Regions from separate parts of the Homo sapiens genome. Here region 2 is linked to region 1. The links are contacts of gene promoters, found by promoter capture Hi-C in human tissues and cell types (Jung and others, 2019). All regions are on one chromosome and are shown on one strand. The core of a region is centred on a gene start or on the middle of the fragment in contact, and the rest is flanking DNA. Distances in the headings are between cores, read along the strand shown. Region 1 holds the start of PTBP1 (polypyrimidine tract binding protein 1). Region 2 holds the start of PALM (paralemmin).

What was found. Contacts are between HindIII fragments. The study calls those that stand out against the background at their distance.
Region 2: the fragment with the promoter of PALM here is called in contact with the fragment with the promoter of PTBP1 in region 1 in 2 of the 25 tissues and cell types used here (dorsolateral prefrontal cortex and lymphoblastoid cells).

The regions. Positions count from the first base shown.
Region 1 is chr19:794,841-798,838 of GRCh38, reverse strand. PTBP1 (polypyrimidine tract binding protein 1) reads right to left here and starts at 1,387. Exons shown (of 15, transcript NM_002819.5): 1 at 1,334-1,387. The coding sequence starts at 1,341. RefSeq lists enhancers at 1-548, 549-1,434, 1,641-1,980, 1,633-2,268 and silencers at 691-1,000, 1,071-1,250, 1,261-1,610, 1,374-1,728. The HindIII fragment of the contact is 37,831 bases long and covers 1-3,998 here.
Region 2 is chr19:706,482-710,909 of GRCh38, reverse strand. It overlaps PALM (paralemmin), which reads right to left and starts at 1,975. Exons shown (of 9, transcript NM_002579.3): 1 at 1,759-1,975. The coding sequence starts at 1,763. RefSeq lists a silencer at 2,729-2,965 and an enhancer at 2,418-2,978. The HindIII fragment of the contact is 30,523 bases long and covers 1-4,428 here.

The DNA of each region.
Region 1 (3,998 bases), core at 138-2,637:
CGCCCGACCCGACTCTCCCTCCTCGGGACACCCCGGGGGGAAGGTGGATAGAAAGCCGGACTGTCCGAGGCCCTCCCTTCAGCCCCGGCCAGGTCCTGACCCAACAGTGAGCTCCCCACGGCTTCTCCCGGCCACTGCAACTCCCGGCGAGGCCCTAAGTGACTCGGAGCGTCCGTCGGAAGGGCAGCCTCCGGGCCTCCTGCCTCACTCCGGGAGGCGAGTGCGCGGCCCCCGAGCCCGCGGTGCTGGGTCCGAGAGCGGGGAGCCCTCGTCTCGCCGTCTGCAGGACCCACCTGCCCGCACGCATGCTAAGGGGTCCAGACCCACTCTAGGGCTGCGCCTCTTCTGACACCACAGACTGCACGGACCACGTTTAACAGACTTTTAAAAGTGACTGAACCCAAGAAAAACTTCTCAGGAAAACGGAAAGAATGCGAAACATCTCCAGCCTCTCCCGCTTCCTATTCCCAGGGAGGGCCTCGCGCAGGAAGCGCTCGGCGGGACACGGCCTTTCTGGAGGGGGCTCCCACCTCTCCCAAGGGAAGCCCGCCCAGCAAAGCCGCCCGGAAAGGCTGCCCCGGCCCGAGAGCCGGGAAGGCCCCTCCCCATGACGGCGCCCGCGGGGGTCCCTGGAGAGGCCCCTCCGGCCCCGGGGCGGAGGACAGACCCTCGGGGCGGCCGCTTCTCTCCCGAGATCACCGAAACCCCTTGGCCGCGGCCCGGGGCGCACGGGGGGCAGGGGTAGGGCGGGGAGCGCAGAGACTCGGGCCCGCGGCGAGGCCCCGGCGCCAGCTTTCCCTCCCGGCGGCCGCCCCAGCCCCGCCTGCGCTTCCGGGGCTGCGCCGGGGGCAGAGTCCGGGCGGCGGGAAAGGCGCGCGCCCCCGATGGCGGCCGCGCACGCGCGCTGGGGCCAACGGGGACGCGCGACGGGCTACGCAGGCGCACGAGGGGAGCGGACGGGAGGCGGGAAGGGCCATCCGGGCGCGCGAGGGCCGGACGGGAAGCGGGAAGGGCCGCGCGCCGCCGAGGCGGGGCAAAGGCGAAGTGCGGGGACGCGCGCGGAGGGGGAGGGGCGCGGGAGGCCGCGTGCGCTAGGGACGGGGCGCGCGGGGGCCGGAAGCGGGCCGGACGGGGGATGGGGACGCGGCCAGACCCCCGGGAAGCCCCTGACCCGCCCCGCACCCGCGCCCGCCACGCGGAGAGGAAGGGGAGAGCCCGCCGCCCCCTCCCGCCCGAGAGGGGGCGAGATCGGCCCCGGGGAGGCCGGCGCGGCGGCGGGGGCAGGGCTGCGGCGCGGGGAGGGCGGTGGGGCGCGGGGCGACGTGCGACTCACCCGTCCATGGCACACAGAGCAGACCCGCGGGGGACGGAGTGGAGGCGCCGGAATAGCAGGAACCGACCCAACGGCTCCGAGTTATAGACTCACAAAATGGCGGAGACGCCCGCACACGTCCCCCGCGCGCGCTGCCCATTGGCTCCCGCTGCAGCCAGGGGGCGGGGAGAGCCCCGCGGGCCCCCGCCAGCACCTCCCACTGGCCAGAAGGCCGCCCGGGGGCGGGACCCAGAGAAATCGCAGGCGCCTATTGGGGGAGGCGGTTATTCCTCAAGGCCGAAGGCGGAAACGGCTTGTGTAGTCGGGGGAGGGGGAGAAAATGGGATCACGTGACGGCGTCTGAGCCAGTCAGCTGGCGCGTGGCTTTGCGGGAGACGCCATCTTGAGAGTGGGTACGTGGCGAGTCAGGCGGCGGGAAGCGTGCTTTGCCCAGGCTGCCGCCATCTTGCAAGTGGGCAGGACCCGCCCGCCTGGGCCGTGAGGGCAAAGGGAGTCGCATCGCCATCTTGGAGTCGGGCAGGAAACCCTCAGGGCTCCATGTTGGTTGTGGGCACATGGCCAAAAAGTCCGATTCAAACTGAGCGCTCACATCTGGGTGATCGCGCGGGGAGGGAAAGGCCGCGTCGCGTCCCGGACACGCCAGGGCTGTTTCCACAGTGGCCACAGATACTGCGGGCGCGCCATGATCCGGGGTCACCCCCGACCGTTCTTTGTTCGCCCCGGAACAGCGAATCCCGACTGCGGAGATAGGGAAACTGAGGTCCGGGCCCCGCACAGTCCGCGGCCGGCTGCCTACAGCTGGGAAAACTGAGGCCTGGACCTTGTACAGTCCGCGGCCGCCCGCCTACAGCTGGGGAAACTGAGGCCTGGACCTTATACAGTAGGCGGCCGCCCGCCTACAGCTGGGGAAACTGAGGCCTGGACCTTGTACAGTCCGCGGCCTCTCACCTACAGCTGGGGAAACTGAGGCCTGGACCTTGTACAGTCCGCGGCCGCCCGCCTACAGGTGGGGAAACTGAGGCCTGGACCTTGCAGTCCTTGGCCGCCCGCCTACAGCTGGGGAAACTGAGGCCTGGACCTTGTACAGTCCGCGGCCTCTCACCTACAGCTGGGGAAACTGAGGCCTGGACCTTGTACAGTGGGCGGCCGCCCGCTTACAGCTGGGGAAACTGAGGCCTGGACTTTGCACAGTCCGCGGCCAACCGCCTAAAGCTGGGGAAGCTGAGGTCCGGGCCACACACAGTCCACGGCCATCCGCCTACAGCTGGGGAAACTGAGGCCAAAGCCACACACAGTCCACGGCCATCTGCCTACAGCGGGGGAAACTGAGGCCCAGGCCACACACAGTCCACGGCCATCCGCCTACAGCTGGAGAAACTGAGGCCCGGGCTCCATACAATCCAAGGCCGCCCGCCTACAGGTGGGGAAACTGAGGCCCAAGCCACCCGCCTACAGCTGGGGAAACTGAGGCCCGAGCCCCCTACAGTCCCTGGCCCACTGACCTACAGCTGGGGAAACTGTGGCCTGGAGCTCGTACAGTTCGAGGCTGCCAGCCTACGGCTGGGGAAACTGAGGGCCAGGCCCAGCAGGGTCACCAGGAGGGTCCCTCCCGGGCCACCATCCCAGCAGCAGAAAACACCCTAAACTAATGTTCCCAGGAGCGCTGATCACATGAAGAGTCTGACAGAGCTGTGAGGGTGCCTGACGGGGAGGCCAGGTCAGCGGGTTGGGAGCCATCCCAGAGTGAGGGGATGACCCCGGCCCTCCACACTGGGACCCTCACGGGAGGCTGCGGTTGGAAACCGGAGCAGTTCCCGGCCCGGAGTAGACACTGCTCCCTAAATAGAATTAGCGGGATTTAGTCCATGCTGAAAAGGGGGTTTTTCATTAACACCAACCTACGGAGGGAGAAGACATGACAATTCTCGTTTCCCCAAATCCAGGCGAGCCTAGCGCCCTGCTTCTCTGGCGTGTTTTATTCCAGCAGTGCTGCGTTTCAGGCCGGGGCCTGGCGTGGGCCCAGGAGCCTTGGAGCCCCGCCGGGCGTCTGGTGCCAGAGGATTCCAGCCCGGATTAGGGGTGGCCGCCGAGCTCCATGGAGGCATCGCACGGCAAGGTCCTTTGGCCCGAACCACCCGGTCAACGGAGACTCACCAAGAGCCATCTGCAGCCAGGGTCACTCATCAGGAATGTCCGGTGGATCTGGGAGAAGCCCAGTGTGTTACTGTGGATTTGCTCCCCTGGAGACCCCCATCCTCACACCACCAGAACCAGCCGCTTCTGTCTGTTCGCGGAGTGCCTGGGATGGGCCCCGCCCTGAAAGCAGACAGGCAGGGGCGGCCGGGGGTCTGAGTGGCAGCTGGCAGCAGTAGAGACCACCAGGTTCCAAGCACCAGTCTAACCCTTCGGAATCGTGTTAAAACCCACTTCTGATCGTGGCCCCGCCAGGCCTCCTGTCTTGCTCAAAGTATAAACCCAAGGCCATCCCTTACCCCGCAAGCCCCACATGACCAGCCACCTGTCCAGTACCTTTTTTTATTTTTATTTTTTTAAGACAGTGTCTGGCCGGGTGCAATGGCTCACACCTGTAATCCCAGCACTCTGGCAGGCCGAGGTGAGTGGATCACCTGAGGTCAGAGTTCGAGACCAGCCTGGCCAACATGGA
Region 2 (4,428 bases), core at 726-3,225, 89 kb after region 1:
GGCGGCACCAGATGGGCCTGTCCCCACCCATTGTCAGCCCGGGAACCGGGGAGAGAGTCGTCCTCGAATGGCGGCTCACAGCAGCCGGTTAACACTGGGTGCCTGTCCCATGTCTGCATCCCCAAAAGCAATGATGACCCAATGGGGGACCTGTGGGCCACCCTCTGACCCAGGACGGAGAAACCGTGGAGCAGAGCAGGAGGCACCGAGGCCCCCCGGCCCCAGGTGCTGTGTGATGGAGGGGGGGTGGGGGGGGGGCAGCAGCTCCTCTCTGGGCCTCAGTATCCCCCGTGGGAAAGGAAGGGGTGGCAGGAAGGAAACAATGGGCCCGACCCGGAGTGTTCGCTGACACCCCTCCTCTGGGAGGGAGATCTCCGTCGTCCTCCTAGGCAGCCCCCTCCCCACAGCCACACCCTGCCCAGGCCTGGCTGTCAGAGGCCCAGAGGCTCCTCCGGGGCCTGGCGAGCAGGGCAGATAAACAAGGCTGGGGGGTGGGGGTGTGGAGCAGGCAAGTCTGGGCCCTGGCTCCCCTGAGCCCCTGGCTGAGCTCCCGGGGCGGGGTGACGGGGAGAGGGGTCAGGCCTTTGTCTGGGTTTTCAAAAGCAGAGGACACTGGGTGTCTCGCTTTCCCAGGGAGGGAGGGAGGCAGCGGCCCCCACCCAGCCGCGGGCGTGGCGGGTCACGGGTGAATCCCCGGGGAAAGTTGGCGGCTTAGAAAACACGCCCAGTGGGAAGGGCAGGGGGCCACAGGCGGCCTCCAGATCCGGTCTTCGGTCCTCGGGCTGGGGTGGGGACCCGGGCCTCAGCAGGGCAGCTGGCTCCCCTGTCCTGAAGTGGGCAGGTGGGTGACCCCAGGAGGAGCCTCCTGACCCCTGCCCGTGCAGTGCCCACCTGTGGGAGTGAGGGGCAGAGGGGCACCCGAGCACCGGGAGGAGGGGACCGGTGTCCGAAATGACCACGCGCCCTCGCTCGGTGCCTCCACTGGCCACCCCCCCCCCACACACACAGGCGCAGCCATGCGGGGGTCCAGGGATCCCAGCCCAGGGCCAGCCCACTCCTGTAGCTACACCAGTGGAGCCCCAGCTCCGAGACACTTCCCCGAGAGGGTATCCCACCCAGGCGCCCCGCTGGAAAACGCCGGTTCCTCTCCCTTCTCACACACCCCAGAGACCCGGGAAGCCGAGGGCAGCCCCTCTCCCTCCAGCGGTAACTCGGGACCTGCGCAGTGGCGGGGGGCTCAGGACACCCCTGGAGGCCCTTGGGAAGGGCGGGGGTGGGGGGCACCGGCCCGCGCGCGCGTCCAGGGCGCCAGGAGCCGTGCGCTCAGACTGGGGCGGGGGAAGGGTGCGTGAGCGCGAGGCCGGACCGGTGCAATCTGGGGAGGGGTCGCTCCATCTCCCCGGGGCCACCCACAGGTGGCCGAGAGCCGAGGCTCGCCCTGGAGACGCGGGCGGGGCGCGGGCGGAGACGCGAGCCTCCCCCTCCCCGCGTCCTGGACTGGCCCGAGCCGCCGCTGCCCGGGTCCCCACGCGCCGGTGGGTGGGCAGCCGGGGTCCGGGAGCGGGGAGGCCTCCCGGCAGGCGCGGCCCAGCCCGAGTCTCTTCCCGGCTGCGCTGCGGCCCCAGCAGCCCCGCGCCGCCTCCTGCTCCTCGCGGGGGCAGCGACGCCCCCAATGGGGCGCGAGAGAGGGGGCCTCCCCCCTCCCCGGCTCCCGGAGCTCCGGGCCCCCAGCCCCGCGGCCCGAGCGCGCCTACTCACTCCATCTCCCCGCCGAGGTCCGGGTGGGTCCGCGGTGCCGGGCGGGGGCGGGCGCGGGTGGCGCGCGGGGGAGGGGAGGGGAGGGGGACGCGGCCTGGCGGGGGCCGGGGCGGGCTAAGGCCTGGCGGCCGGGGCTGCGCGGCGCGGGGGCGGCGGCACCGGCTCGGGCATCGCCCCGCGCAAAGCTGCTGTTTATTGTCCGGGCGGCGGCGGGCGCGGGGGGTGGGCTGGGCGCGCGCGTCTCCGGCGCGCTCCCCTCTCCCTCCCGCCCGCCCCGCTCCCCGCCCCGCTCCCCTCCCACCTCCCCGCGCTGCGAGCGGGCGCTGCGCCTCCTGCCGGCTGCGCCGCCGCCGCCCCCCGCCCCGCGCGCCCCGCCCCGGGGCACCCCTGAGAAGGGCCTAGGTCTGGGCGCGGTGCTGGGACCCGGCTGTCACCAAGTCCCGCCCCTCCCCAGCTCCTGGGCCAGAGCCGGGACCCTCGCGAAGTCAGACAAGCAAAGGCCTTTCTCGAGAGCCCAGACGCCGAGAGGGACACACATTTCAGGGCGAGCGAGGGGATAGGGGGGTCCTGGGGAGGCCGCTGCGAGGAGCTGACAGCTCCCTGCACCCCCGGCCCCGCTCGCAGGGTCCCCAGGCCTCCTTTGCCGGAGTATCTGGTGGAGGGCGCTGTGCCTGCAAAGGCCGGGGGTTGGGGTGGAGACAACCGCAGGTGCTGATCTGTCTGTGCCCTGGCTGGGAGCTGAGCCTGGTCCCCGGGGCTGGAATTTAATCGGCCCCAGGGCCCCCATGGCACACTCACTAAAGGCCCAGCGACCAGACGACCAGAGTGAGTGAGAGGGACGGTGGAGAATCAGGGAGAGCTCAGGCTTTGTCCTCAGAGCACTGGGGAGCCACAGCAGGAGACAGGCAGGACCTGTCTTCCCCAACATGTAGGCCTTGGGCCCAGCTTCCTGGTTTCCCGTGAGAACACTGCAGACCAGCCCCAGCACACCTACTCATGGGGGTCCAGGGTGGGCAGGAAGGAAAGATTCTTCCAAACTTCTTAGTTTTCTTATAAAACGGTTCTCCTCTGCCGATGTTTGCTGAATGGCTGTAGATTTAAAGGAAAGTAGCCCCGGATGAGCTGTGGAGAAAGATACGGCAGGATGTACCCCAGGCTGAAGAAGGCCGTCAACACCTTTTCTTTATTCCTCCCTTTTTACAATGAATGTGTATTCATTTTAGCATTTAAGACAATAAGATAAATTAGCAAAGGTTAACAAAGCTAAGATCCTAAAGAATATCAGGGGTCCCGGGTCTGTCTGATTCCCAGCTCACCCATCTCCAAGCTGTGTGACCCTGGGTCTGTTTCTCAACCTCTCGGAGCCTTATTCCCCCCCACCCCCCTGCCCCCACCCTTAAGGCTGTGGGAGGGTTAACTGAGTGAGCACACACAAAGGGCTTGGCACAGGGCCCAGCACACACTAGCTCAGGGTTTGGCAAACTTTTTCTGTAAAGGGCCAGAGAGTAAATATTTTCAGCATTGCAGGCCACAGTCTCTGCGGCAATGACTCTGCTCTGCCATCGCAGAGTGAAAGTAGCCAGAGACAATATGTAAAACCATGGGCATGGCTCTGTGCCCATAAAACTTTATTTACAAAAACAGGCAGTGGGCCAGAGCTTATCCCAGGGCCGTAGTGTACTGACCCCTGCACTAGGCACCCAATAAAACTTTATTTACAAAAACAGGCAGAGGGCCAGAGCTGATCCGAGGGCCGTAGTGTACTGACCCCTGCACTAGGCACCCAATAAAACTGACCTGTGAGTCGTTTCTTCACTTCCCCTTGGCCTCTGTGTTCTTTTAGTCCAAAGTGATTTATTGAACACCTACTGTGTGCCTGGCACCGTTAGTCACCTGTGATGCAGAAGTTCCATTTTTGCGGCCAGGCGCCGTGGCTCACGCCTATAATCCCAGCACTTTGGGAGGCTGAGGCTGGTGGATCACGAGGTCAAAAGTTTGAGACCAGGCCGGGCGCGGTGGCTCACGCCTGTAATCCCAGCACTTTGGGAGGCTGAGGCTGGTGGATCATGAGGTCAAAAGTTAGAGACCAGCCTGGCCAACATGGCAAAACCACTTCTTTTTTTGGCTGGGGTGGACGGAGTTTCGCTCTTGTTGCCCAGGCTGGAGTGCAATGGCGCGATCTCGGCTCACTGCAACCTCCGTCTACCAGGTTCAAGCAATTCTCCTGCCTCAGCCTCCCTAGTAGCTGGGATTACAGGTGTGAGCCACCACGCTCGGCCAGTGAAACTCCTTCTCTACTAAAAATACAAAACTTAGCTGGGCATGGTGGTGCGCGCCTGTAATCCCAGCTACTGGGGAGGCTGAGGCAGGAGAATGGCTGGAACCCGGGAGGCAGAAGTTGCAGTGAGCAGAGATCGCGCCACTGCACTCCAGCCTGGGTGACAGAACAAGACTCCATCTCAACAAAACAAAACAAAACAAAACAAAAAAGAAGTTCTGTCCTTGGAGAGACGGTGATTTTTGTCCCCTACATAAATGATTCAGGGTGAATGAAGTGACTGTTACATGTAATCCCAACACTTCAGGAGACTGAAGCAGGAGGATCACTTGAATCCAGGAGGTGAAGACCCTGGGCTACCTAGTGAGACTTCCATTTCTACAAAAAATTAA